Regions from separate parts of the Homo sapiens genome. Here regions 1, 3, 4 and 5 are each linked to region 2. The links are contacts of gene promoters, found by promoter capture Hi-C in blood cells and fetal thymus (Javierre and others, 2016). All regions are on one chromosome and are shown on one strand. The core of a region is centred on a gene start or on the middle of the fragment in contact, and the rest is flanking DNA. Distances in the headings are between cores, read along the strand shown. Region 1 holds the start of VPS53 (VPS53 subunit of GARP complex). Region 2 holds the start of DOC2B (double C2 domain beta). Region 3 overlaps VPS53 (VPS53 subunit of GARP complex). Region 4 holds the start of NXN (nucleoredoxin). Region 5 holds the start of TLCD3A (TLC domain containing 3A).

Region 1 (5,511 bases), core at 3,012-5,511, 530 kb after region 2:
ATCTGCTCGATCTAGAGGGTCCTGGCTTGGAAACACCTATATAGAAAGAGAGGAGTATATATAAAAACATGTAGTATACCGTAAATATATATAATTTTAATTTGTCAATTAAAAGGAAAGGGCCGGGCACGGTGGCTCATGCCTGTAATCACAGCACTTTGGGAGGCCAAAGCAGATGGATCACCTGAGGTCAGGTCTCTACTAAAAATAAAAACTTGGCTGGGTGTGGTGTTGGCGCACACCTGTAATCCCAACTACTCAGGAGGCTGAGGCAGGAGAATTGCTTGAACCCGGGAGGCGGAGGTTACAGTGAGCCGAGATCACACCACTACACTCCAGTCTGGGCGAAAGAGCAAGACTCTGTCTCAAAATTAAATTAATTAATTAATTAATTAAAATAAGGCTGCGCGGATCGCTTGAGCTCAGGAGTTGGAGACTGGCCTGGGCAACATGGTGAAACCACATCTCTACAAAAAAAAATTAGCTGGGTGCCATGGCACATGCCTGTCATAGTCCCAGCTACGTGGGAGGCTGAGATGGGAGGATCACCAGAGCCCAGGAGGTTGAGGTTGCAGTGAGCCGAGATTCTATCACTGAACTCCAGCCTGGGCGACAGAGTGAGATCCTCTCTCAAAAACAGTCCACCTCTAAGACATACAGCTAACTCCCTAACAACCTGAAGAACACGCAACAAGGTGGATGATACAAGCAGCCAAATTATCCACTGGACACTGGGTCTCACCCAGCTTGATAGAGTTACAACTGTGGGAAGCAACTTCATCTCTGAAGAAGCCTTCCAAAGAAATATAGAGTCAAAAAATCAAAATATCTTCAAGACAACTGTTAGAAAAGCTGAAGCCTTCTACCACATCAAGAGGAGGTGGATGAGAAGAAAGTGAAGATGTTTTCTTTTTAAAATGTTCAGCATTGCTGTTTCCATAATGCACATATACACAGGTTATTTACACAGTCTCAATGATACGTGCTCACCAGAGGGAAAGTATAACCCACAGAGAGCAGGATACAAGAGATACAAACTATTTCCTCAAGTTGCTCTCAGTTTCTGTATTCCTCTCACGACTCCTAGGTTTTAGTGCTGTCCTAGGTTTTAAATTGTTTTCATGTAACAAGGCTCCTAACAAAAGCCAGCTGAAAAAAGAATGACTGGTTCCAATGATGGAGGAAAAAAACTAACAGCCCTAGACTTATCAGAGATGCATACGTGGTACTTCATGGGCAATTTTTTTTTTTTTTTTTGACACGGAGTCTCGCGCTGTCACCCAGGCTGGAGTGCAGTAGCGCGATCTTGGTTCACTACAAGCTCCACCTCCCAGGTTCATGCCATTCTCCTGTCTCAGCCTCTTGAGAAGGTGGGACTACAGGCGCTCGCCACCATACCCGGCTTATTTTTTGTGTTTTTAGTAGAGAAGGGGTTTCACCGTGTTGGCCAGGATGGTCTCAATCTCCTGAACTTGTGATCCACCCGCCTCGGCCTCCCAAAGTGCTGGGATTACAGGCGTGAGCCTCCACACCCGGCCTTCATGGGCAATTTAAAGAACTTCAGGGCAGAGTGATTTTCATGTCTAGAGTGACTTTCGCCTTTTTTTTTTTTTTTTTTTTCGAGATGGAGTCTCACTCTGTCGCTCAGGCTGGAAGGCAGTGGCACCATCTCAGCTCACTGCAACCTCTGCCTCCCGGGTTCAAGCAGTTCTTTGCCTCAACCTCCCGAGTAGCTGAGATTACGGGCACCTGCCACCATGCCCAGCTAAATTTTTGTATTTTTAGGAGAGACGGGGTTTCACCATGTTGGCCAGGCTGGTCTTGAACTCCTGACATCGTGATCCACCCGCCCTGGCCTCCCAAAGTGCTGGGATTACAGGTGTGAGCCACCGAGCCCAGCCAATTTTCACCTTATGCAATGACTCTGGGACTTCATCTTGGAGTAAAATGTGATTCCATTTTATCAACCCTTCCTGACTCCTCACACATCACTACTCTTTACAAGTATGCTACTACAGAATTTCATTCAGAGTGCTAAAGTAAGAAAAAATTCTGAATTCATCTTGACATAATGATGTCTGAATTCTGCTTGACATAAAGATGTCTGCTATACTATCACTCAAACTTATTCTTACAAAATAGGAAAAATGTCAGAATTCACCGCTATGTAATTCATCCATGTAATCAAAAACCACCTGTACCCCAAAAGCTGTTGAAACAAACAAAAGAAATAGCAAAAATGTGCTTTTCTGATACCTGTCAACCAAACAGTAACTGACTGCATTATTCTTTTCTTCCATGAGAGCCCACTAGTCCAAAGAGCAACAGAAATGTTATGTCTTTTTCTGGCAAAAGGAGGTAAGTGGTGGAGCCGTGTGGCCGGAACACTAAAAGCTTCCTGCCCAATGGTTTGGCGTTCTCAGGCTAGGACAAAGTTGGTTGTATAAGTAATCCAACCACTACTGGAAAAACACACATCGAAGCGTCAATGAATGCACCTGTAGTCCCAGCTACTCGGGAGGCTGAGGCAGGGTTATCACTTGAGCCCCAGGAGTTCGAGGCTGCAGTGAGCTACGATTATGCCACTGTACTCCAGCCTGGACAACAGAGCAAGACCCTATCTCAAAAAAAAAAAGTTTCCCAGGGGTCATTAAATAAGGCATAATGGAATTGTCCATTTCCTCAATCATAAATCCCTTTCTTAAATCATATAACTTCATGACAATTCCTTTAAGGGAGATTTTCTCCGTTTATCAGGAGCAATACCCTGCAGTATTAGAAATCACTATTTCTGACCGGGTGCAGTGGCTCACACCTGTAATCCCAGCACTTTGGGAGGCCGAGGCGGGCGGATAGCCTGAGGTCAGGAGTTCAAGACCAGCCTGGCCAACATGGTGAAACCCGGTCTCTACTAAAAATACAAAAATTAGCTAGGCATGGTAGCGGTTGCCTGTAGTCCCAGCTACTCAGGAGGCTGAGGCAGGAGAATCACTTGAACCTGGAAGCGGAGGTTGCAGTGAGCCGAGATGGCACCCCTACACTCCAACCTGGGCGAAAGAGCGAGACTCCGTCTCAGAAAACAAAAAAAAAGAAAAAAAGAAAAGAAAAAAATCACTATTTCTAATATCATTAGCCTTAAAAACTCAATAAACTTGCAAAGGCAAGAGTTCCTGCAGGCAGGGCCGCGCGTGGTGGCTCACGCCTGTAATCCCAGCACTTTGGGAGGCCAAGGCGGGCGGGTTACTTGAGCTCAGGAGTTCGAGACCATCCTGGCCAAAACGGTGAAACCCCCGTCTTTACCCCAAAAAAAAAAAAAAATTAGCCGGGTGTGGTGGCGTGCGCCTGTAATCACAGCTACTCAGGAGGCTGAGACAGGAGAATCGCTTGAACTCGGGAGGCGGAGGTCGCAGTGAGCCGAGATCGTGCCGTTGCACTCCAGCCCGGGCGACAGAGCGAGAATCCGTCTCAAAAAAAAAAAAAAAAAAAAGTTCCTGAAGGGAAAAGAGGCCCCTTGGGAGTATTCTCCAACCTCACCCAAACTATTCAACGGTAGGAATTCTCAACCTTTTAAGAATGGTAACGATGTCATTTTTCAACACTTTCTCTCTTCTCTGCCGTCCGCTTCAGAAATTAAAGTCATTCCCTTCCCCCAGTTCCAAGCCACTCACGAGGTGCCAGCTTGCAAAACCGGGGCGTTGGCACGAGTCTGGTAAATGCATGAAGCCCCCACAGTCCCCAGAATCTGAGGATGGCACCCAAGGCCTGCATTCTCCTAGCGTCGTCCTCTCTAAGCGCACAATTCCTTTCCCCAAAACCACCAGAACCCCCAGCCCTCGCCAAAGACAATCAAAGCCTAGAAAGGGTTCTCTTTCCTTTCCTTCTGATTCAGAAACCGCTTCTCACCCGCACCACCTCCCCACCTCCACTTTCCCTTCTGCCGCGAGCCCCCGGCCCTCCGTCCACCCGCCGCGGCCTCCCCAGCGCCCGGAGCTGCCGTCTCCCCTCCCGCACTCCCGTTTCCCCTCCTGAGGGGCGGAACGCTTACCTGCTCGATGGCCAGCTGCACCTCGGGCGTGAGCTGCAGCACGGCTTCCAGCTCCTCCACGAACTCCAGTTCCTCCTCCTCCATCATTCCGCCACCCGGCCCCCTGCCGACCCCCGCCGCGAGCCCAACTCAGGCCTCCAGCCGCCACCCAGGCCCCAGCACAGCAACTCCCTCGCGGCAGCGACCTGGTGAGCCCGGCTCCGTCAGCCGCTCTGTCAGCCGCTCCGGCACTTCCGGCAGGCCAGGGCACTTCCGGGACCGGGGAACTGTGGGATCACGGCGGACTGAGACTGGCGGCGTTCCTGTCACGTCAGGTGTCTCCCGGGCAACGCAGTATCCCGGCGGCCCCGCGTGGCCTCAGCGCGTCCTTAGGATGGGCGGGGCCTCTTCCCTCCCCAAGGCGCGCCCCGCACTGAGGACCCCGAGGTTGGGGTAGGGTCTGGCCTCCAGCAGGACGCCCGGATGAAAGTCAGCCCTGCGGCGTCGCCAACCGCAGCCCACAGCCTCCGCGGGCAGCGCAGCGGCGACCTCTCAGCTCCCGGGGCCCCCTCGGTCAGTGGCAGCGGGTGTCCCCGGCCACGGGGGCGACGTGATCCCAGCTGGCGAGTGGCGATGTCGCCAAGGACATTCGTAGGACGGGACAGTGCCCACTCGATAGAAATTCCCCGTGCGCCGGGCTCTGCGCAGAAGCTTTTCGAGGTGACTGCAGCCTCCTTATGGGGAGAAACGTCTTTTTTTTTTTTTTTTTTTTTTTTGAGACGGAGTCTTACTTGTTGCCCAGGCTGGAGTGCAACGGCGCGATCTCGGCTCACTGCAACCCCGCCTGCTGGGTTCAAGCGATTCTCCTGTCTCAGCCTCCCGAGTAGCTGGGATTACAGGCGCCCGCCACCACGCCCAGCTAATTTTTGTATTTTTAGTGGAGACGAGGTTTCACCATGTTGGCCAGGCTGGTCTCGAACTCTTGACCTCGTGATCCGCCCGCCTCGGCCTCCCAAAGTGCTGGGATGACAGGCGTGAGCTACTGCGCCCGGCCAGAAACGTTTTTTTAAAGCCAGATGACGCAGCGCCCTGGAGCTGGGGAGACGTTTACTGAGGTTGAATATCCGGGATCTAAGTCCTGAATAGTCCACCATTGATAAGTTGTGTGACTTGGAACAAATTACTACCCCGCGTCGATGTGGAGAGGATTAAACATTAACAGCGCGATGTAAATTCAAGCTGGTAATACAGGAAATAGTGAGGTGCCCAGCCCTTACCCCCACAAAGGAACAAATAAGCCAGATCACCGATCACCCTGTGAAACCACCTTTCCTGCAGACACTGAAAAGAAGGAGGGAATTGCAGCCCAAGGAGGACCCGCTCCACCAGGTGAACCGGGAAACTCCAGGAGGGAAACGCGTTGGCCCCACTGAACTTTTTTTTGTTGTTGTTATCAGAGTTGCTCAAAGTAAAAAATAGGAGCAGTA
Region 2 (5,381 bases), core at 2,154-4,653:
CTCTACAAGGAAAAACGCACAGCCACGAGCAAAGATGGACAGAACCATCACCCCAACAGTGCTGAGGGGCTGCTGCATTGGTGCACCCTGGTGCAGCAAGACCTCAGCTGTCCTCATTGTTTAAGCCACTCTGAGTTGGTTATCTGTCACTTGCAACCCATGGCACTCTAGTGATTACAGCTTTGAAGAATGGACTGGGCTTCCACAGGTGGGTGCCGGGCAGGAGAGCCTCTCAGGTAGGGGCAGCGTGTGGGGTGTGTGGCCCACGGCCCACCTGGAGGGCAGCACGCCACAGAGGCCACCCTAGGAGAACTGGCAGGGCCGACACTGGGTCCTGCTCCTCATTGGGACATTCACTGCCTTTCCTCCCTGTCATCGCCCCTCTTCGAGATCTGCTGGGAACATGCGAGTTATGTGCTTGTGCTTTGACATGACTTAATAAAGAAAGGGCTTTAAAAAGCCAGGAGAAAAGGCTGAGTAAATAAACAGCACTTCACTCTCTGCCTTGGACAACAGAGCAACCGCCCTCATTTCTTTTTGTCAGAACAGAGATAATCCAATAATTAGGGCAGCAAATAGCATAACCCTGGCTAAAGCCGTAATGAACCATCTGGCTTGAATCATTGAGGCTTATTCTAAGGATCTGGTTGTCACAGCCCAGAGGGGGGCACCGCCTGGGGTACTGGGTGGAAGGCAGTCCCACCCCAGAACCTGTTCCCCCACCATGGACAAGAGCCAAGATTTCTGGGCTTCTGGGCCTAGGATGTTTGTCAGCCTCCCATAGGATCCAAGCCTAGGGTGGGGCCCCCCTCGAAGGGGGCGACAGGGGCCCAAGCTGGCCCTAGCTCAGTGGCACACCGTCCTCCTTAGCTCCTCTGAGCCCGTCTTCAGCATTTCTTTGGCATGTCCTGATAATACGGGTGTGGCCAGCCCACAGTTCAAGCTGGCAAAGCTGCATCCAGCTCTGCCCTGCACTGCTGACCTCATGTGAGTCTGGCCCCTGCACCGCATGTATCTCAGGCCAGGGGCCCAGCCCTGCTGCCAGGACATGCTCCCTGAAGGGCTGCTGAGCTGATGGATTGGAGATGGGGCTGGCTGGCCTGAGTTTCTAGCTTCCTGGTCCCCTCCTTGCTTTGTGGGTTCAGAGACAGCAAAAAAAAGAAAAAGAAAAAGCCTCTTGGCCATTCGCCATGCAGAGGGCCCTCTGTGGCACCAGGAGGGTGGCCTGAAGCTCTGCCCTCCCCTCTTACTTCCTTGGTGCAGCAGCAGAGATGCCAGAAATGGGAACAACTTTCCCATCCGTTCTTCTGGGGGAGGCTTTGGATTCAGGGCAGCCAAAGCAGTTACTTGGGTCCCACTCAGGGCCCACCCAGGGGATCACCAAGTCCAGGGTGAGCTTCGCACAGGGTGCCAGGGGCAGAGGGGAGGGGGGGTGGATCTAGGGCACAGCCCTGAGGGCAAAAAACTCTTCCGACCCAATCTCCCCAAGCTGGCAGGAAAGTGGAGGGACAAGACTGCTCCCCAGCCCCCACGCCCCAGGGCAGGGCCTTCATGTGCCAGGCGCTGGCCCGAGGGCCGTGGTCCAGGCCTCTAGAAAGTGCAAAGCAGGCAGTTTCCCCTACAGGGGCCCTGCTCTAACCGGCCACTGCTGATGGGCCTCCCCAGGTGGGGCGATGGGGGGTCTGTGCCCCGGGGGCACTGGTAATCCCTACCTTCAGCTTCTGGTGGCACATTTGATGCTTGGGAAACTCCAGGCCCGCAGCCCACAGGCCCTGGTGAGTGCCCAGGCCAGGCGCAGACATCCCTGCTGCGCAGGGGAGGGGCAGCACCAGCCCTGGAGAAGGGCCACATCCCGGGAAGGGCTGGGGTTTGACGAGACGCTGGTTTTCCAGGTCTCAGTGACAAGTCTGGAGCCACAGCTGAGCTAGGAGGGGGTTCTCACATGCCATCCCCACCCCGCGCAAACCGACTCCTCACTGGACTGCGACCTCTTCCGGCCTCGGTTTCCCAGCCAGTCCCGGCTCGGGCCGGACAGGCACCCTCGGGGACGGGAAAAGGCGCCAGGAGCGCCCACCGGCCGGGCCTCGGTCCCGGGACTCCGGCGCTTGCCTGCTCCCGGGGGCTCAGGGCTCAGTCCGGGAGGAGGGGGAGCGGGCTGGGGGGCCCTCTCTGCCCGGGGGCCGCGGGCGTAACAGGTGGGCGAAGGTGCGCGGCCCTGGCGAGGGCTGCGGCGGGGTCCATGGACACCGGAGGAGGAAACGCCAAGGTTTTTCCAAAGGACAAGCGGCCCCGCGGTCCTCCTGGTCCTCTGCTCGCGCGCCAGCAAAGCAGCTGCGCTCTGCGGGCCGCCGGGACCACGCGGGAGGCCGGGCCGCTCCCAGCCTCGGGCCCCTCCCCAGCTCGCCCCAGCCCCGACCCTCGGCCGCGAGGCCCTCCCGGAGCGGCTGGCGAGCGGGGAGCGACCGCGCGGCCGGCAGCAACTGGTGTCTCCCCGGGACGCAGCTCCGCCCTTCCCGGGAACAAAAGCAGCCGCCCGCGCCGGAGCTCCGGGAGGGCGGGCTGGCAGGGAGGGGGCGCGGCGCCGGCTCCGAGGAACCCGGCCCCGGAAATGGGACACCCCCAGGGGGTGCCCCCGAACTTCCCTCCTGTCCGGCCTGGGTCGGGGGAGGGCTCGAGGCCGGTGGGCAGGGCGCGGAGAGCGCACCGAGTGCGCCAGGGGCCCGCAAGCCCGCGGCGGGGTTGTGAACCGAGGCAGAGCGCGAGCGCGCGAGGGGGACCGGCGGAGGGAAGCCGCGAGGCCGTGGGGGGGCCGAGCCCGAGCCAGGGGAGGGGGCGCGAAGTCGGCGCGTGGGAAACTTACTGCAGTCGTCCGACTCGTAGCCGTCGGCGTCCGGCTCGTCCTCCGGCGGCTTGGCTGGCGGCCGCGCGGGGCTGGGACCCGGGCTGGGGCCCGGGCTGGAGCCGTAGGCTCCGAAGAGCTGGTCCACATCCTCGTCGTCCTCGCGGGCGCCGTCGGAGGGGCTGCGGCGGCCGGCACCGGCCACAGCCGGGCGCGCGGGGGCGTCCGGGGGTGCAGCGGCTCGGGGCCCGGCGTCCGGGGGCAGGCCCCGCGGGAAGCGGGGGAAGTAGTCGGAGATCTGCTTGATGGGACGGATGGGGCCGGGGCACACGTCGATGGCCATATGCTCCTGGATGCTGATGGTCGCCTTCTCCCCGCGCCGCCGGAGGGTCATGCAGGCAGCGCCGCCCCGCCCCGGGCGCGGCCCGGCCCGGCGCGACCCCGGCCCGGGGGCGGCTCAGCAGGCCCGGCGGGGCGCGGCGGGGGCTGCGGGCATCGCCGGCCGCGCCCCCGGACGGCCCTGACTTGGCCGCTGCCCGCTCCGCTGCGGACGGCGCGAGCGAGTGCCAGAGGCCGGCAGGCAGGGGGCGGGCCCAGCCCGCGTCACCCGGCAGCAACCAAGCAGGGTGAGTGTGCGGGCTGCGCGGGCGGCGCGGAGCGGAGGGAGCCGCGCGGCGCCACACTCACTCGCACTCGCACTCACACCGGCGTGCACGCCGGCCCGGGACCCCGCGCGCGCACACTCGCGGCCAGGCAGGGCCGCCGGGCGCCTTCCGCTCATGCACGCCCGCGGCACAAGCTGGGAGTCAACCCGGCAGGGACCCGCAGGACGCGCACCCACACGTTCCCGCGCGTGCCAGCCCACGCTGGGCTCCGCTCGCTCTCTCGGGACACACGCAGGTGTGCAAGTGCACACATGCGTGTGCAGAGACACGTGGTGGAAGCATCCGCTCGCTCACACCGTAGGTCACACACGCAAACGTCTGCATGCGCACATGGTTGTTTTAGGAAGCTGTGACACAGTACACCCCCAATGCACAGGCGCGCACACCTGATGGAGCACACACACAGGTGATCAAGGGCACCCAGGGCACAGGCTTCCCTACCCCCAAGCACCCCTAACAAGATGCACAAACATGAGCCCATAGAAGTGATCAGGGGACCCTGGGCACAACTCCTTCTCTCCTCCCCCTCTAGCAGGACGTGGAGTCACACTCCTAGCATGTAGGGACAGGTTGCCTACACACGGGCAGGACATGTACACGCTCAACTGCACAAGGACACCGGGGCTCAGTCTGTGCACACATATTCTCAGGTCACATACAACACAGCACTCTAACCTCGGGTCAGTCCCTCACTTGGTCAGTGAGTACAGTCTGAAGGACCCCCCGGGGCAGGGTGGCTGAGAACCTGCACAGGGCCTGGTCAGGAGGGAGTGAGGGCAGGGCCTGGGCGGTGAGTGATGCAATAAGGCTGGGCGGCACGCTCCCCCCACCCCCACTCCTACTCTAGGCCTCCCACACGGTCAGATCACTAAACAAATCCCAGAGGGCCCAGCCCTGGCTGTCCGGCTTTCCGGGACCAGAGCTCTGTTGGGAACTGCTGCTGCTTGGACAGGTGTGTTCCCGGAAAGCCCTGGGCATGGATGGAATCCTGTTTACCCTCTGGTTTCCACTGATGTGTAAGACACTTAGCTTCTTAGTGGGTGCCTTTGGTGCATCTGAATGAGGGGCTCCAAGCCTCTCTTGTTCCCCCACCATAACCCCTGCAGAGTGATGGGGAGCAGAGGAAAGAGAGGCAAAGCCTTGGCCTGTGGCTTCCAGCTGCACAGTTCTGGCAGGCTATTTGACCTCTTTGAGCCTCGGTTTCCTCATCTATGAAGTGAGGCTATTTCCAACTGCACAGCCTTGTGGCAAGGCCCCATCCAGCACAGACAGGTAAGAGGTGCTCAGCTGGCTTTCCCTTCTCCCTTCCTTTGGAAAGACAAGACTCATGGTGAGAAGTGATGAGAAATTCATGTTTTGTGGTGAGTTCTGAACTGGGTGGTGGCGGGCACTACCGGCCTTTGAAAACACTGGAGAAACACATGGCATATGTTGTACTGCGCCAAGAACATTCACAGCTGTCATCTCATTGATTCCTTAAACCACCCCACGATGTAGGCAGGGCCTGCTGTTCCCATTTCACAGGGGAGGAAATTAGCGCTCAGGCACAAGGATGTGTCCAGGGTGACTGCTGGCTGGCGGCAGAGCTGCGATGAGAGCCCAGTGTCCTGACTGTTCGATGCTTCCACTTTCCCTCCCTTCTCCCTTTCCTCCCCTCCACTACAGAGCTCAGGGGCTCAGAGCAGAGTTGGAAACACAGGTAAAACCTCGTTCCCAAAGCTCATCCTGAGGCTTCTTGGACAGGGGAAGCCCAAACTGAGGAGGAGGGGAAGGAGGGAAAAAAAGGAGGAGGAAGAGGAGGACGGGAGGAGGCCAAGAGCCTCAGGGGTTACAGTGGGAATGAACCAGCCGGGGTTCCCTAAAGATAGTCTGAGGTC
Region 3 (5,101 bases), core at 1,336-3,835, 510 kb after region 2:
CTGAAAGTAGCCAAGCTTCTGCAAGATAATGAAACGTCAGAGATGTAATACAAAGGACTCCTGAACTGGGTGGAAGATTGTACTACAATTACCTAATCCTTCTTCCAAAGCGAAGGAGTGAGCAATACAGCACCCCCTCCTTATCAGCAGTTCACTTTCTGAGGTTTTAGCCACCTGTAGTTGACTGTGGTCCAAAAATATTACATGGAAAATTCCAGAAACAGACAATTAGTAAATTTTAAATTATGCGCCATTCTGAGTAGTGTGATAAAATCTTGCACCACCCAATTCTGTCCTGACCAGGTCACGAATCATTCCTTCACCCAGTATATCCATGCTGAATACAGCACCTATTAGTCACTTAGCAGCCATCTCGGCTATTACATACAGCTCCAAATCACAAGAGGAGTGATGCTGGCATACTGTCATAATTGTGCTATTTTATTTTTAGTTATTGTGGTGAATCTCTTACTGTGCCTAATTTGCATGCTAAAGTTTATCACAGGTATGTATACATAGGAAAAAATACGGCATATATAGGGTTTGCTACTCTCTGGGTTTCAGGCATCCACTGGGGGTCTTGGAATGTATCCCCCACAGGTAAGTGGGGACGACTTGTAATAATTCTCTTCTCCTCCCAAACCTTACTCTTGTTCTGATCAAAGAAATGGCTACATTGCAGCCAGGCTCCATTGAAGAGACAGAAACTCGGTGGCTGATCCTCTCCTGTGAGTCTGAGAGCTTACTGACGACCGGTCAACGTTGGCCACTCTTGAAACTTCCCACTGCCGGCTTTTTCTTCCTCTAACCCGCCCCTCTATTCACCTCTCTTTCACCTACGTTCAAGCCATCCATTTTAATTCTTGGGAAGCTGCAAAAATTTCATAGCATACCACATCATGTACTTGTTGAATTGACTCATCCACAAAGTTTTAAACGTGGGCATTTAATTAAAGCTTTTGACTGATGATTTCAACAGATAAAAATGGGGAGGATTCCGTGCCATATAAACTTTATAAGAGCATCATCGTCTGGTTAGAAGAGGTCACAGACTAGACCAGTTCAAGCTGGCCCACATAGAAGGTGGTCAAAAAACAAAGACTCTGCAAACGTTTAGCAGAATGTTAACCAAGCGGCTGGTATTTCAGAAACTTCAAGAAGCTCAAGAAATGACCTAATTATGCCTTCAATATTTAAATCATTCCTTACCCCCAAATAATTTTTGAGTCAAAAACATTGCTTTTCAAAAGCAACTTTTCTGCTAAAAATGTCATTTAAGACACCATGAATGTGAAGTCAACACTTTCCCCTTATTTACAGATATAGAAGCACACCTAGCCGGGTGCGGTGGCTCACGCCTGTCATCCCAGCACTTTGGGAGGCCGAGGCGGGCGGACCACAAGGTCAGGAGTTTGAGACCAGCCTGACCAACATGGTGAAACCCTGTCTCTACTAAAAATACAAAAATGAGCTGGGCATGGTGGTGCGCACCTGTAATCCCAGCACTTTGGGAGGCCGAGGCGGGCGGACCATGAAGTCAGGAGTTTGAGACCAGCCTGACCAACATGGTGAAATCCCGTCTCTACTAAAAATACAAAAATTAGCCAGGCGTGGTGGTGCATGCCTGTAATCCCAGCTACTCAGGAGGCTGAGGCAGGAGAGTCGCTTGAACCCAGGAGGCAGAAGTTGCAGTAAGCCGAGATCACACCACTGCACTGCAGCCTGGCTGACAGCGAGACTCTGACTCAAAAACAAAACAAAAAACAAAGAAGCAAGAAGCACATCTAGGCTGGGTATAGCCTAGCAGCCATCTCGGCTATTACATACAGCTCCAAATCACAAGAGGAGTGATGCTGGCATACTGTCATAATTGTGCTATTTTATTTTCAGTTATTGTGGTGAATCTCTTACTGTGCCTAATTTGCATGCTAAAATTTATCACAGGTATGTATACATAGGAAAAAATATGGCATATATAGGGTTTGCTACTCTCTGGGTTTCAGGCATCCACTGGGGGTCTTGGAATGTATCCCCCACAGGTAAGTGGGGACGACTTGTAATAATAAGTGTCTCATGCCTATAATCTCAGCATTTTGGGAGCCCAAGGCAGGAGGATCACTTCAGGCCAGGAGTTCAAGACCAGCCCGGGCAACACAGCAAGAACCCATCTCTACCAAAAATAAAAAATTAAAAATTAAAAATAGCTGTGTGTGGTGGCACATGCCTGTAGTCCTAGCTACTTCGGAGGCTAAGGTGGGAGGATCACTTGGCCCCAGGAGTTCAAGGTTACCGTGAAAAATGATTGCACTCCAGCCTGAGCAACAAGGCAGGACCCTGTCCCTAACATGATAATAATAAATACAAATTTAAAAGCGGCACATCGGTTCTGGTTAAACACAATCAAGATTAAATTTATAAAACGAAAACCTCCTTTTGTCCATATGCCACTCCCTTCTGAGTGTTCTTCAGAAGCTTAGGAAGCGAGTGCTGAAAGCAAACTTCTCTTCTCTTCCAGGGAAGAGGGGAACGTGGGGCCTCTTGACCTACAAAACTCAGTATTTTGGAACATCCGTAATTCCACCAAGTCTGTTGCAGTCAAATAGACTCCTTTTAGCAAACCAGCCAGCCAGGGCTGGAGAGCAAGGCTTTCATACCTAGGAGTTGACAAGGACAGGACCCAAGAGCTCCTTGGAAAAAAAAAAGCTTGTACTTCAGTTTGCATTACAAAGTGCTGGAAAAGACAGATGGGGCCATGACAGGAAAAGCAGTTATTTCTTCTGGGCTTCCTTTCTGTCTGGATTCTAAGGAGACGAATACAAAGTTCCATCACAGATTGAAATGCTATCTAAACATTCTTGAAAATGTGGTCTTGCTCTGTGAAATACGACCTGCTCTGCTGCGGCAACCTGTAACCTATTAATACGGGATGGGGGAGAACGCCGACATTCCTGCAGACTGTCGAATTCTGGGTCTGACTCTGTAATACCGCTAGTTTGCAAGAGTCCAGAACCACAGGTTGAAACGTAAATAACTGAAAGATACACATCTATTATGCACAGCATGACCCAACAAAAAATGCCGATGAATCACTCACTATTTTCACATTCTTGAAATTTTAAACATCTATGACTCCTGCACTGTAAGACTTCTAGTGAGCCATTCCAAATGTAGGCTGAATCACACTGAACAAGCAGTGTTACTATTCCCAGTAGCAGCAAGTTGGGACTCTTAATGCACAAAGCAAGTTCTAAATCACTTTTAAGGAACACCCACTTGCTGATCAAAATGATGTTTTTATGATAAAATGTTTTTGTTTATTTATAATTAATAAACAATCTTAGACAGACAAAATATTCAATACAGTTGCATAAAATGTTGTGGGGGTTTTGCTGTTGCTTTTGGGGATGGGGTCTCGCTCTGTCATCCGGGCTGGAGCGCGGCGGCACCATTACAGCTCACTGAAGCTTGTACTACCACACCCAGCTAATTATTTTACCTTTTCGTAGAGACGTGTATTGCTATGTTGCCGAGGCTGGTCTCAAACTCCTGGCCTCAAGTCATCCTCCCACCTAGGCATCCCAAAGTGTTGAGATTACAGGCATGAGCCATTGTGCCTGGCTCAGTTGAATAAAATGTTATTGCATGTGGCCTATGTGTAGTGAAATAGAAAGATGACAAAGATACAGTTCTTACCTTCCAGGAGCTTACAAACATCAAAGGGATGAGACTTGTTCTCTGGTAAGTCAAGGGAGACCCCAAAAGCCAAATGAAAAGTACAAGAATGGGGCTGTGGGATTTATGGAGAAAGGACATCGAGGGACACTGGAATCCATTTTCTCCTCTGTAAAATGAGGGGAGGGGCCCAGATGAGTTTCAAATCCTTTCCAGTTCAAAATTCTGATTCCTTGGTGTATTCAGATAAGGTCCATGGAAAACATCGTCAAGAAACTAGTATCTGAGCTGGTCCTTGGATGGGTAAGATTGGGAAATGCGGCGGCTTAAAGAAATAGGAGGAAAAGCATTTCAAGCACAAAAGAGTCTGTAAGCACAGGTCCAGAAAGCACAGGCATGCTCGTAGAGCACAAAGTCTTCAGTGTAGACAGAACACAAGAGGAGGCAAAACTGGAATTGGAGACCAGAATTTTGAATGCCAAGCAAAGGAATTTGGATTTCTTTTTTTTTTTAAACAGGGTCTCACTCTGTTTCCCAGGCTGGAGTGCAGTGGCGCGATGATGGCTTACTGCAGCCTCGAACTTCCTGGCTCAGCTGATCTTCCTGTCTCGGCCTCCTCAGTAGCTGGGACTACAGGCACAGGCCACCACCATGCCCAGCTAATTTTGTACTTTTTGAAGATGCAGGGTTTTGTCATGTTGCCCAGGCTGGCCTTGAACTCCTAGGCTCAAGTGATCTCCCCGCCTCGGCCTCCCAAAGTGTTGGGATTGCAGGTGTGGGCCACCATGCCTGGCCTTGGATTTCATTTAGTGGCCAGAGCTGATACGGTGTCTGAAGAGGTAGACAATACGATCAAACACAGATTAGGACAGCTAAGCAGCAGAATGCAGCTGGAGTGCTTGAGGCTGCCCTGTCCCTCTGTAGGACCCCTCTGAAGGTCCCATTTACATGGGCCTCATCTGCCAAAGAAGCCATGCTTCATGAAATATACCTCAACAGACAAAACGAGGTAACGAGGGCTAAAAAAAATACAGGAGTCCAGAAAACCAGAACAGTTTTAGGAACCTAATGTGTCTACACACAAATTCTGATGATGACAAGAAGGCCAGCTACTCACAAACAGGCCAAAGGAAACTGGCTATCAAATGGAAAGTGACTATAAAGTGGAAAAATGGAAAAAGAAAGTGATATAAAGTAGTAAAAATAGACAGATGGGAAAACTACAGATGTAAAAGAAAGAGACTCCTAATATCTGTAAGCAACTGGCAGAAGGAAACAGAAATATCAGAGATCTGGAAATTTCAGCGTAGGATTATATGCTCCTCCCACTCCAAATCTGGGCAGCAGGATGAACATTTTTAGAAATTAGCTGTCCTAAAAAATGTCAAAGAGGAGAAATCACAGCATTGAAGCAATTGCAAAGAAGCAG
Region 4 (5,564 bases), core at 1,440-3,939, 800 kb after region 2:
ACGTAGCTTTTGTAATTTCCAAGAGTATGTGTTCCATAAGAAGGACAGCTGGAGTCTTTTTACCTGGTATATATCCCCGAGAAAGATCTTGAGTGGTTTGTTCACGACCAAGGAAAGAAACTACCTCCTTGAAAACTGGACTGGTTTTAGAGAATAAAGTATAGGATGTGAGTCAGAAAAACTCTGGGCCAAAAAATAAAATGTTTAAGATGCTAACGCACCAGGGTTTGGGCACGTCCAGCACTCTCAACGGTATTTTCAAATGAGAGTCTGCCCTGTGTCATCCAGGTTCTCATCATGGAGGAATCAGCAGGTCCAGGCTAGGGCCGCAGAATACTTTTTGTCATGCAAAGAGCCTGTCCAGGGTATAGAGAGCCAGCCATGGCCCATGTCCTATCAAATATTCTCCTTTTTCGGAAAAAGCTCTAAGCATTTGCAAAACATCTGTTTGCTCCATATTTTTACTATCCAAAAAATGTATTTCCTCTTCAGTAAAAAACACAACAATAGGCTGTTAAGCCTGTAACATTTTACCATAATTCTATGTTTTCAAAAGCTAGAAATCATTTGTATTGCCGGATAAGGACATTATTTTAAGTAGACTTTAGTCTACAACAGAAACTTGCCGTAACAATGAAAATGTTTTTTGGCAAATCCCTTTCTGAACATTATTTCTCCACGAACGTATCACAAAAACCACCACCAAGGAAAACAAAGGATTCTCGTATTTTGAATCAAAAAGTACTGGCCATGCATATTCATACTATATCAAGCATGTCAATCAAAATGGGCAAAATAACCTAAAAAGCAGTAAAAATGCCAACTCTTGCCTCTGAGTGGTTAGTGAACCTATGTTTTCCCAATATGAAATTTACAAACTGCATCGGATCAACTGTATTTCATACTTTAAATCTCGAATCTCTACCTCCCACTGCTTCGGGATGGATGATTTACTCAAGACATTTGGGGTCACAGTGTAAGCCTTTTGCTCCCAGTAAATCTAAATCATGCTTCTCAACAAGATTCTGCACATATAAAAGGAACACGTGGCACGCCTCGCCATGCTCCCCAGAGGAAACTAAACGCCCCCAGAATAGCCCTTCTGTCCACTCCAGAAACAGGCTTTCCTCAAAAAGGGAAAGGGGCTGGATTCACACGTTGCATCATATACACTCACGAAGCAACAGCGCTCCAAAACTTTTTCTGACTCCATTCATTACAAAATGTCCTGGATGTGCTTTATTATCACAGAGACAGACATCCTCACCCAAGGGACACACTCAGAAACCCAAACTCAACTCGGCAGCAAACTGGGAGACACGAGAAGTTGACAGCAAAGTATCCATTTCCCCAAATCCTCCTTCTTCCAGTCAATGTGCATCGATGGGGTCAGCTCAGCCCTTAACTCGAAGACCCCGGGACCACAGGGGCCACCACGCAGCTGAGCTCTGCACAGCCCGGGCTGTTCCCGCGCCCGGGAGGCGTCTGGGGAGGAGGCTGGACGGCCAGACAATGCAAAGCTCCCCGGTGGCCGCGAACTCAGCCTGGGGCGGGGGAGGCGGGGGCGGGAGACGGAGCCGTGAGCGCCCTTCTCGGCCACAGCCACGGCCACGGTCACCGGCCGCCTCTCCTGACCTCGGCCTCGGCCCCCAGGTCCCCGGTCCCCGGGGAAGGGGCTCCGGGAAGGCAGGTTTCTCCCGGAAAGAAAGGAAACGCGCTGGTTTGGGCGCCACGGGCGGGGGGCGTGCGCCCTCCCCTCCCCTCCCCTCCCCACTGTGGGAATCCGCGGGGGTCGGCGGCGGAGGCAGGAAGGGCCTGGCGCCTCTGCTCGCGGGTGAAGGGGTCGCGGAACCGGGATCCCCGAGCGCAGCCGCCCCCACCCGAGGCTCCCAGCGTGTGCGGACGGAGGGGCTCGAGCCGGGATCCCGGGGGCCGAGGGGGGTCCAACTTTCCAGGGCGGGCGCAGCGCAGCACTCGAACCAAAGAGGGGTCCTGGGATGAGGGTGCGGGCACAGCGCGGAAGGGGGGGGGGCAGAGGCGGGGACGGCGGGGTGGGGGGCGGGGAGAGGACAGTGGGTCGGGGGGCGGGGGACTGGGGGCAGGGGTCGGGGGGTGGAGGGCGGGCAGGGGGACAACGGGGTTGGCGGAGGGCAGGGGTAACGGGCGTGGGGGGCGGGCAGGGGTAACGGGCGTGGGGGGCGGGCAGGGGCCGGCGAGGCCCGCGCCGCTCACCTTCCTGTGCTTCTCCTTGTAGGGCAGCGCCAGCCACGGCATGTCCCGCACGAAGTCCTGCCACTGCCGCTGGTCCTGGTCCGAGGACACGAAGACGATCTCCAGGCGCCGCCGCGGCTCGGGCTCCGCCGCCGCCCCGGCCCCCGCTCCCGGCCCCGGCCCGGCCGCCGCGTCCCCCCGCAGGCGCCCGTAGAAGGCGGCCAGGCTGGCGCTGAGCTGCGCGCAGGGGGCGCTGAGGCTGCAGCCGAAGTAGAGACCCAGCAGCGAGATGCCGCGGGCGCCCAGCGAGTGCACGTCCACCTCCTCGCCGCCGCCCGTCACCAGCTTCTCGCCGAGCAGCTCCTCCAGGAAGCCCGACATCCTGGCCCACCGCAGGGCGGGCAGGCGGCTGCGACCCCGCTCCACGGTCCGCGCGGCGGGAGGAGGCGGCGGCGTCGGCGGCAGGCGCTGGGGAGAGCAGAGCCCGGCCCAGTAGGGCCGCCCACGCCACGCCCCCTCCGCCTGCCCGCGCCACGCCCCTTCCCCCGCCCTGCCACGCCCCCTCCGCGGCCCGCGCCACGCCCCTTCGGCTGCCCTCGCCACGCCCCTCCGCCCGCCCTCGCCACGCCCCCTCCGCCCTCGCCACGCCCCGTTTGCGGCCGGCGGTGGCCAGAGCTCTCCGCCCAGGCGGGGTCCGCAGCTGCCGGCCGCGGTGCGCGGGGTGACTGCTTGGGCGAGAAGCCGGACCCGAAACGCCGCACTCTCCCTGGAAAGCCCACGGCCGAAGTGAAGAAAGGAGAAGGGCCCGCTGAGCCGGCGCTTTCCCGGGCTGCAGCCCGGCCCGCATTTTCTCTCCTCCCCAGTTCTAAATTCCCTCCAGACCTCCAGGGATCCCGCCCCCTCCCCGCGGAGCTCTTCACCCTCTTCCTGTTCCTCCCCGGCCTTTCCCTCCTCCTCTCCCTGCACGAAGCCTGACCCTTAGGCCGCTCCGGGCCCCACTGACCCTGAGATGCTTATAGGACCCGCCGTCCTCACTGCATCAGGCCGGGCCTGGCTGGACACTGACTCCTCTGTGTGTTCCAAGCTGTTCTAAGGGGGCCGAGGACGCCCTCGCAGCTTCTGGTGGGGTCTGGTTAGGGTGCCAGGTCTCAGTGTGGGATTTCCGTCCAGGGGTCGCCGGGGCCTCTCCCCCCAGCGAATCTGTCTTCCAGCCCCACAAATGGATGCAAAGGACGCCGCGGGGCCTCCAGACCAATGCTGGCCGCGCTCCTGAATCCGCTCCATCCTCATGTCAAGTCTATGGATAGTTGAGAACATTTCTAGAGATTTTTTTTTTCCTACCAGCTGGCAGGATGCTCCCCAATGCTTAGGGAGAAGCTGGATTAAACAGGTGGTCTGGGCCGGGCGCGGTGGCTCACGCCTGAATTCCCAGCACTTTGGGAGGCCGAGGTGGGTGGATCACAAGGTCAGGAGTTCGAGACCAGCCTGGCCAATATGGTGACACCCCCCCCCCGCCTCTACTAAAAATACAAAAATTAGCGGGGTGTAGTGGCAGGCACCTGTAATCCGAGCAACTCAGGAGGCTGAGGTAGGAGAATGGCGTGAAGCCGGGAGACGGAGGCTGCAGTGAGCCGAGATCGCTCCATTGCACTCCAGCCTGGGCAACAGAGCAAGACTCCGTCTCAAAAAAAACAAAAAAACAGGTGGTCCGTGGCGAGTACTCTGGCCACGCAGCGCCTCCCCCCAACCCAACCCACTGGTGCACGAAGCAGGTGCAGATCCGGGCCCAGCCACAGTAACAGGCCGCCGGTGTGGATCAGCTACTGACGACTCAGCGAAAGCAAAAAAATAAAAGCTGAAAACCCGCCCCTCTCAGAGCTTCCACCGCCGCTTCGGAGGATATTTCCTGTGCATCCATCGCCACCTAATGGAAAGAGTGAAAAATGAGGCCGACCAAACTCCATTTGTGAAAAGACACTGCCGGGACACCAGGCACAATGCTTTTATTTTACAGCAGCTTTCCACATACACAAATGATAGGACGCTTTGCGGGAGCTAATTTAAACCTCAGAATAGAACTTCAAGCTTTTGGCACAAAACGTAAGTGTTCACATCGAAGGTTCTCCGTTTTTCTAGGGTAGAATAAGGAATGGTGCAGGGTTCCAGCTTGGTGAAATGTTACCATATAAAACAATTGGGAGAGGTGGAGATGGGAGCGGAAAGTGGACTGGCGTCTCTACAAGTTATATCCACTTCCTTAGTCACCTGCTGGTATTGCTAATGACACAGGTAAGATCTTAGATGGAGGACCGCCTTCGAACACCCTAGAATCCTACTGCAAAGTCGAATTCCACCTTAATTCTCAGGAGACTTTCATGCTGAAAGTCTGTGCCACTGTAGGGACAATATTATAAAACACACACAGAAAGCATCACTTTTTAGTGAAAACTTTATTTATTTATTTATTTATTTATTTATTTATTTTGAGACAGTGTGGGCGGCAGGCCACCCAGGCGCTGAGGCAAGAGACCGAGGACACAAGCCGTTCCAGTGTAATAAAATATAAAATAAGAATAGTTATACCAGATATAGATCTTAGATAGGCTTATATATGAATATCATTAATCATTAGTTTGTAGCAATTACTCTTTATTCCCATATTATAATGATCCTCGCTCTATAATCATAATCTAGGGAAAACCAGGCCATACAGAGATAGGAGCTGAGGGGACATAGTGAGGAGTGACCAGAAGACAAGAGTGCGAGCCTTCTGTTATGCCCAGACAGGGCTACCAGAGGGCTCCTTGGTCTAGCGGTAACACCAGCGTCTGGGAAGACACCCGTGGCCAGGCGGACTGTGGTGTAGCGGTAGCGTAAGTGTCAAGGAAAAACACCCGCTACTTAGCAGACCGGGAAAGGGAGTCTCCCTTTCCCCGGGGGGAGTTTAGAGAAGACTCTACTCCTCCACCTCTTGTGGAGGGCCTGACTGCAGGTTCGCCCACAATTATCCGGAGGCCTAACTGTCTCCCTGTGATGCTGTGCTTCAGTGGTCACGCTCCTAGTCCGCCTTCATGTTCCATTCTGTACACCTGGCTCTGCCTTCTAGATAGCAGTAGCAAATTAGTGAAAGTACTAAAAGTCTCTAATAATGGTGGAAGCTGTTTCTCTCTTTGTCTCCTCTCTCTCTCTGCCTCGGCTGCCAGGCAGGGAAGGGCCCCCTGTCCAGTGGACACGTGACCCACATGACCTTACCTATCATTGGAGATGGCTCACTCTCCTTATCCTGCCCCTTTGTCTTGTATCCAATAAATATCAGTGCAGCCTGGCATTTGGGACCACTACCGGTCTCCGCG
Region 5 (5,650 bases), core at 1,425-3,924, 550 kb after region 2:
TTTGGCCTTACCATTTGCCGACAGGGGTTTGATCGCTTGAAAAGCTAAGGTTCATGTTTCTGCTTGTTAGCTTTATGGTGATTCAACATAAACAGTCTGGTGACTTCACTGAGCATGGTGTTGAAACTGATCTTACTTGCTATTTTCTTTTTTCTTTTTTTTTTTTTTATTTGAGACAGAGTCTTGCTCTGTTGCCCAGGATGGAGTGCAGTGGCACGATCTTGGCTCACTGCAACCTTCGCCTCCCGGGTTCATGCCATTCTCCTGCCTCAGCCTCCCGAGTAGCTGGGACTACAGGCGCCCGCCACCACGCCCGGCTAACTTTTTGTATTTTTAGTAGAGGCCGGGTTTCACCATGTTAGCCAGGATGGTTTCGATCTCCTGACCTCGTGATCCGCCCGCCTCGGCCTCCCAAAGTGCTGGGATGACAGGCATGAGCCACTGCGCCCGGCCTTTACTTGCTATTTTCTATACATGAAACATCGGTTGTTTTGTTTTCAACTCATAAAGATGCCTTACAGCTTCTTGTGTAGGGGAGACTGGTTCCCACCACTCAAAGGTGCCAGCATACTCACTGCCAAGCTGCTGCTCCCTTTAAGGAGGGAAGGCAGGGAGGACTTGTAACCACCTGTCACTCTCTGGAAACACTGGCGCTGGAGGTCACTGTGATAAATGCTTAGGAAAGAGACAGTGGACTGCACAGAGTCGTTTTCCTGGAGAGAATGGAGAGTTCACAGGTAGCTGGTTTTGTCCACAAGCGAATGTGAAAATAAAGAGAGCGTCGCATTTGTCAGATATCTTGGGACCAACCTGAAGTGGCTTTCTCCTTTCACTGAGTATGTCAGCAGTGAATTTGGGAGTTAGAGATGTTGCCCTAAGTGGACGAAGTTTGAGGCTTTTCTTGAGGCTGTCTGCCACCGTCCTGTTGGCTAAGTCCCTTTTCTTAACCACATATAGGAAGATGTTAGAGGCTACATTCATTCCAAAAGGTCACAGCCTAGTAACTGATACTACCACTGAAGGAAAACTATCTTTTAAACCTGAGAAACATCTTCAGACTCCATCATGAATGAATCCAAATTGAAAAAAACAAAAGCTGTGCTCACTCTACACCAGTTCCTACATCACTAACTGCCGTGTTAAAGTAATTTAACTGGCACCTAACAGAAATCATCTGCCACTTTGTAAAAGTCATAGACTCATAAGAATCTAGAGCTGGAAGACCGTTAAAGAGCTAGTGATCCAGCCTCCCTCTCATTTCACGGACCAGCAAATCGTGGCCCAGAGAGCCGAGCCCAGCTGTTCCGAAGTCCTCATACGGGATTTTGGTCAGCATTTTGCATGACGGTGATCTGAGGAGACCCGTCATACCTTTCATTTGTAGTAACATAAATGAACTGTATTTCCCACCCCCTACGTTTGTTAGCTGAGGAAGATACAGACCAAAGCAAAATAAAGCTGGTAGTTCCTAAAGGACAGAAGCCAATGATACTGAAATTCCTGTCTTCATCCATGTGATTGGTGCTTGGCACAAATGAAATGTATTCCAATTCATTCAAGTTTAGACGCCTGTCCCGATAACTGTTTTTTTGTTTGTTTGTTTGTTTGTTTTTTGAGACAGAGTCCTGCTCTGTGGCCCAGGCTGGAGTGCAGTGGCGTGATCTCGGCTCACTGCAACCTCTGCCTCCCAGGTTCAAGCGATTCTCCTGCCTCAGCCTCCAGAGTAGCTGGGACTACAGACAGGCACCACCACACCTGGCTAATTTTGTATTTTTAGTAGAGACGGGGTTTCACCGTGGTGGTCAGGCTGGTCTCGAACTCCTGACGTCAAGTGATCTGCCCGCCTCGGCCTCCCCAAGTGCTGGGGTTACAGGCGCGCCCGACCCCGATACTTTTAAATAACGACACGTTGTGAACAACACCACAGTCCCTACGCCTCTGGATGGTGTCTCCGGATAGATCCAAAGCCGAGAGGCAGTAAGAGCCTGCAGCCTCCACAGTCCGCCTCCTGGTGCAGGTGGAGAGGGGCTGCTGGAGGCCCCCGGACCTCACGCTTCCTGAGGGCCACCCCGGAGCGGCTGCAGCCGCTGGCGGCACCGGGAAAAGCATCTCGGCCGTGCGGGGAGAGGCCACATCCTGAGGCCTCCCACCGAGAAGCACCAGGGCTTGGTGGACGGGGCCCGCGAACCCAGGGCCACACGCCGCCTCCCTCCTTCCTTCCCCGCGGGCCTCGCCCCACCCCGGAGGGGGTTCCTACCTGGCTTCCTCGGCCCCGCGCCCACCCCGCCCCTTCGCCCGGGGCCGGCGAGAAGAGCAGGTCGGGGAGGGGCGCGTCCGCTGACGGAACAGAAGCCGGGAGCCGCGGCCCTTCCCGCCTCCGCCTGGGCCCCGCGGCCGCTCGGGAGGGAGCGGCGGACTCGGAACGCGCGCGCGCCGCGGCCCCGGCCACAGCCGCCGCCTCGGTCCCCGCCTCCGCCCCCGCCCACCCGCCCGCCGGGGACGCCGGGGAACCCTCCGGGCCCAGGGACCGCGAGAGACCCCGCCCCGCCCTATCGCAGCCGCCGGGCCTGGTCACGCGCAGAGCCGCGCCGCGGGATCGGGGCCAGCGCCGGGCGGAGGCGGGACGGGGACGGGGGCGGAGGGTTGAAATCGCGCGGCCGGGCCGGGGCGCGCCGAGCCGAACCCAGCCACGCGGCGCCAGCGAGGCGGCCGGACCCGCAGCCCCGATGCTGCTGACGCTGGCCGGGGGCGCGCTCTTCTTCCCGGGGCTCTTCGCGCTCTGCACCTGGGCGCTGCGCCGCTCCCAGCCCGGATGGAGCCGCACCGACTGCGTGATGATCAGCACCAGGTACCGGCGCCGCCGAGACGCCCCCCGAGGCCCGGGGCGCTGCCCACCGCACCCCACCCGGCCGCGGGGCCCAGGGCGGAAAAGGGGGGCGGCAGGAAGCCCGGGGGCTGCTCCCTCCGCGTCCCGGCGGCCCGAGTTTCCGAAGCCCCTCCGCGTCCTCCCCTGGCGGGAGCGGGGCCGGGGCGGGCGGGAATGGCCGATGAGCCTCCGGAGCCCGCTCCCCACATCTGCCTGCGGCTGGGGAGAGTCAGGCCGAAGGGCCGGGCCGGGCTCCCTGCGGTCCTCGGACCGGACTGAGCGCGCGCGCTGTTCTCTCCGCCCGCGCTAGGCTGGTTTCCTCGGTGCACGCCGTGCTGGCCACCGGCTCGGGGATCGTCATCATTCGCTCCTGCGACGACGTGATCACCGGCAGGTAAGAGCCCGGGCCGGGGCCTTGTTGCAAATGTCACATTTCAGTAGCTCGCAGGCTCTGGCTCTCGCAGCACACGCGCTCAGAAAGCTGACTAATGGGAAAAGCTGGCACCACAATGGGCTCCTTCTTCCTCTCCGGAGTCTTCGGGCACCCCCAGCTTAGGAGAAAGTCCACGGAAATGAGGGAGGACGACAGAGTCGGAGTCTGATTTCAGGTGGTGTGAGCCAGGGATCCAGGTCCTTCATGGAAGAGATAAGCGTGGAAGCATTTACGACTGGGAGTGTGGCTTGATTCTTGCAGTTGGCTTCACTGGGTTCTCACTCTGGAGCATCACTGGCTAACAGACGTCCAGTGTGGTTAGCAGAGCCCCCTCCATGGAAAGGAACCAACCCACCACCCCCTTCCACGCAAACGCCGCTCTTGCTTTTCCTGCAGATTTGCTAAAGGTGATTGAGAGGTTCCCAGCGCTTAGAACACGGACTTGTACGTCTATCAGAGGTCAGTCCAGAGGCAGGTCAGGAAATGTGCACCTATCTGCAGTTCCAGTGAAACAAATCATAAATTAAGACCAGAATAGTCGACTTTGTACAGTAGTTAGACCTGGACAATGGTGGTGCTTTTATTATTTCAAGCCTTTTTTTTCCCCACCGGTCTTGCTGGAATCACACTCACTTTCTCCCAAGTTGAAGGACCACAGTCGGATGTGCAGGAAGTTGAACGGCCTTTCCAGGCCCTGCTCTCCTGTGGGCTCTGCCAAGTCCTGCTTCTCACCTGCTGAGACTGAACTGCGAGGGGCCTGAGCAAGCTGTCCGTCTCACTCTAGCCTGCGGTCTTACCTGGGATCAATCCTGCTGTCATGATTTTTGTGCTTTTCTTCTGCCTTTTTAAAAACAAAACTGGCTATTGGCGATGAATAAGTAGATGCTACGATAGATCAAGTGACATCGATTGTAGACACCAAAGGTTAATATTGGTGTGGCTGGGTACAATTTTTCTTCTTCTTCTTCTTCTTTTTTTTTTAAAGACAGGGTCTCACTATGTTGCCCAGGCTGGTCTTGAACTCCTGGGCTCAAGTCATTTTTCTGCCTCACCCTCACAAAGTGCTGGGATTACAGGCATGAGCCACCACACCCAGCAAATTTTTTACTTTTTTTTTTTCCTGTCGAGACCTCAGGCTGAGGTGCAGTGGCATAATGACAGCTGACTGTAGTCTTGAACTCCAGGGTTCAAGCCACCCGTCTTCCTTAGCCTCCCAAGCTTGGACTACAGGCACACACTACTACACCTGGCTAACTTTTTTTTGTTGTTGTTGGTAGAGACAGGGGTCTCCCTGCGTTGCCCAGGCTGGTCTTGAACTCCTGGGCTCCAACGATCCTCCTGCCTGGGCCTCCCAAAGTGTTGGGATTATAGGCGTGAGCCACTGCACCCAGCCAAAAAAGGCCTTTCAGGGTTCATATACTATATACTGAATATTTTTCTATTATATGCCTTCTCATTTTATGCCTTCACATAGAATGCGATTAGATAGAAGGAGTTAAAAATCCCCCCAAATTATAGGCAGAAGGTGGTATGGGGCCAAGGATTTAGTCAGATTCTTAAAGGATTCAGACACTAAAATGACAAAGTCACAGCTCCAGGTGGTTTTCTCAATTTAAGTACTTAATTCAGATAGTACGTTGTTGTTTTAGACAGGGTCTGGCTCTGTCACCCACGCTGGTCTGAACTCCTGGGCTCAAGCCATTCTCCCACTCAGGCCTCCCAAAGTGCAGGGATCATAGGTGTGAGCCACCGTGCCCAGCCTGTATAGTACCTTTTAACATTTAAAAGGACTCCCCCTCCCCGCCGCCTTTCTTTTTATTGAGATGGAGTCTCACTCTGTCACTCAGACTGGAGTGCAGTGGTGAGGTCTCGGCTCACTGCAACCTCCACCTCCCAGGTTCAAGTGATTCTCCTGCCTCAGCCTCCTGAGTAGCTGAGGTTACAGGCATGTGTCACCACGTCTGGCTAATTTTTGTATATTTAGTAAAGCCATGTTGGCCAGGCTGGTCTTGAACTCCTGACCTCAGGTGATCCATCCGCCTCGGCCTCCCAAAATGCTGGGATTACAGGCATGAGCCACCGTGCCCGGCCGACTTTCCCACATTTAATTATTTAATCTTCACTGCAGTTTTGACAGGTAAGACAGACAAGGATTATCATCTTCATTTTACAAAGAAAGTTAAATCACAGGCTAGTGATAGTGAAGATTATAATCCAGATCTCTTGCTAATAAATCTTCAGAGGATTCTACTCATGAGTCACAATTTCAGATCTCTTCTCTGAATTGGTGAAAACATGAAAACCCTAGGTTCCCTTCAAGGGGAGAGGCCAGTTATATTTCAGCTAAATTT

The links. The method cuts DNA at HindIII sites, captures the fragments that hold promoters and counts their contacts. A CHiCAGO score of 5 or more calls a contact.
Region 1: a contact is called between the fragment with the promoter of VPS53 here and the fragment with the promoter of DOC2B in region 2, in 13 of 17 cell types (naive CD4 T cells, endothelial precursors, total CD4 T cells and 10 more). The highest score is 11.9, in naive CD4 T cells.
Region 3: a fragment that was not itself captured here is called in contact with the fragment with the promoter of DOC2B in region 2 in 8 of 17 cell types (naive CD8 T cells, naive CD4 T cells, total CD8 T cells and 5 more); the score reaches 9.6 in naive CD8 T cells.
Region 4: the fragment with the promoter of NXN here is called in contact with the fragment with the promoter of DOC2B in region 2 in 6 of 17 cell types (M1 macrophages, M0 macrophages, M2 macrophages and 3 more); the score reaches 10.9 in M1 macrophages.
Region 5: a contact is called between the fragment with the promoter of TLCD3A here and the fragment with the promoter of DOC2B in region 2, in 2 of 17 cell types (neutrophils and M0 macrophages). The highest score is 6.2, in neutrophils.

The regions. Positions count from the first base shown.
Region 1 is chr17:710,578-716,088 of GRCh38, forward strand. It overlaps VPS53 (VPS53 subunit of GARP complex), which reads right to left and starts at 4,262. Exons shown (of 22, transcript NM_001128159.3): 1 at 4,046-4,262; 2 at 1-36. The coding sequence starts at 4,132. RefSeq lists an enhancer at 4,734-4,803. The HindIII fragment of the contact is 2,341 bases long and covers 2,393-4,733 here.
Region 2 is chr17:178,247-183,627 of GRCh38, forward strand. It overlaps DOC2B (double C2 domain beta), which reads right to left and starts at 3,404. Exons shown (of 9, transcript NM_003585.5): 1 at 2,861-3,404. The coding sequence starts at 3,233. RefSeq lists enhancers at 1,760-2,326, 3,788-4,289. The HindIII fragment of the contact is 7,942 bases long and covers 1-5,381 here.
Region 3 is chr17:691,385-696,485 of GRCh38, forward strand. All of the region lies in intron 4 of VPS53 (VPS53 subunit of GARP complex), which reads right to left. Among named protein-coding and RNA genes, the nearest start is that of VPS53, 21 kb to the right of the region's middle. The HindIII fragment of the contact is 231 bases long and covers 2,471-2,701 here.
Region 4 is chr17:977,087-982,650 of GRCh38, forward strand. It overlaps NXN (nucleoredoxin), which reads right to left and starts at 2,690. Exons shown (of 8, transcript NM_022463.5): 1 at 2,233-2,690. The coding sequence starts at 2,592. RefSeq lists enhancers at 1,603-2,538, 3,963-4,257. The HindIII fragment of the contact is 5,276 bases long and covers 1-4,294 here.
Region 5 is chr17:729,922-735,571 of GRCh38, forward strand. It overlaps TLCD3A (TLC domain containing 3A), which reads left to right and starts at 2,675. Exons shown (of 5, transcript NM_024792.3): 1 at 2,675-2,848; 2 at 3,177-3,260. The coding sequence starts at 2,727. LOC124903893 (a long non-coding RNA gene) reads right to left here and starts at 2,459. Exons shown (of 2, transcript XR_007065572.1): 1 at 2,258-2,459. RefSeq lists an enhancer at 1-182 and silencers at 2,152-2,631, 2,652-2,921, 2,992-3,091. The HindIII fragment of the contact is 13,049 bases long and covers 1-4,515 here.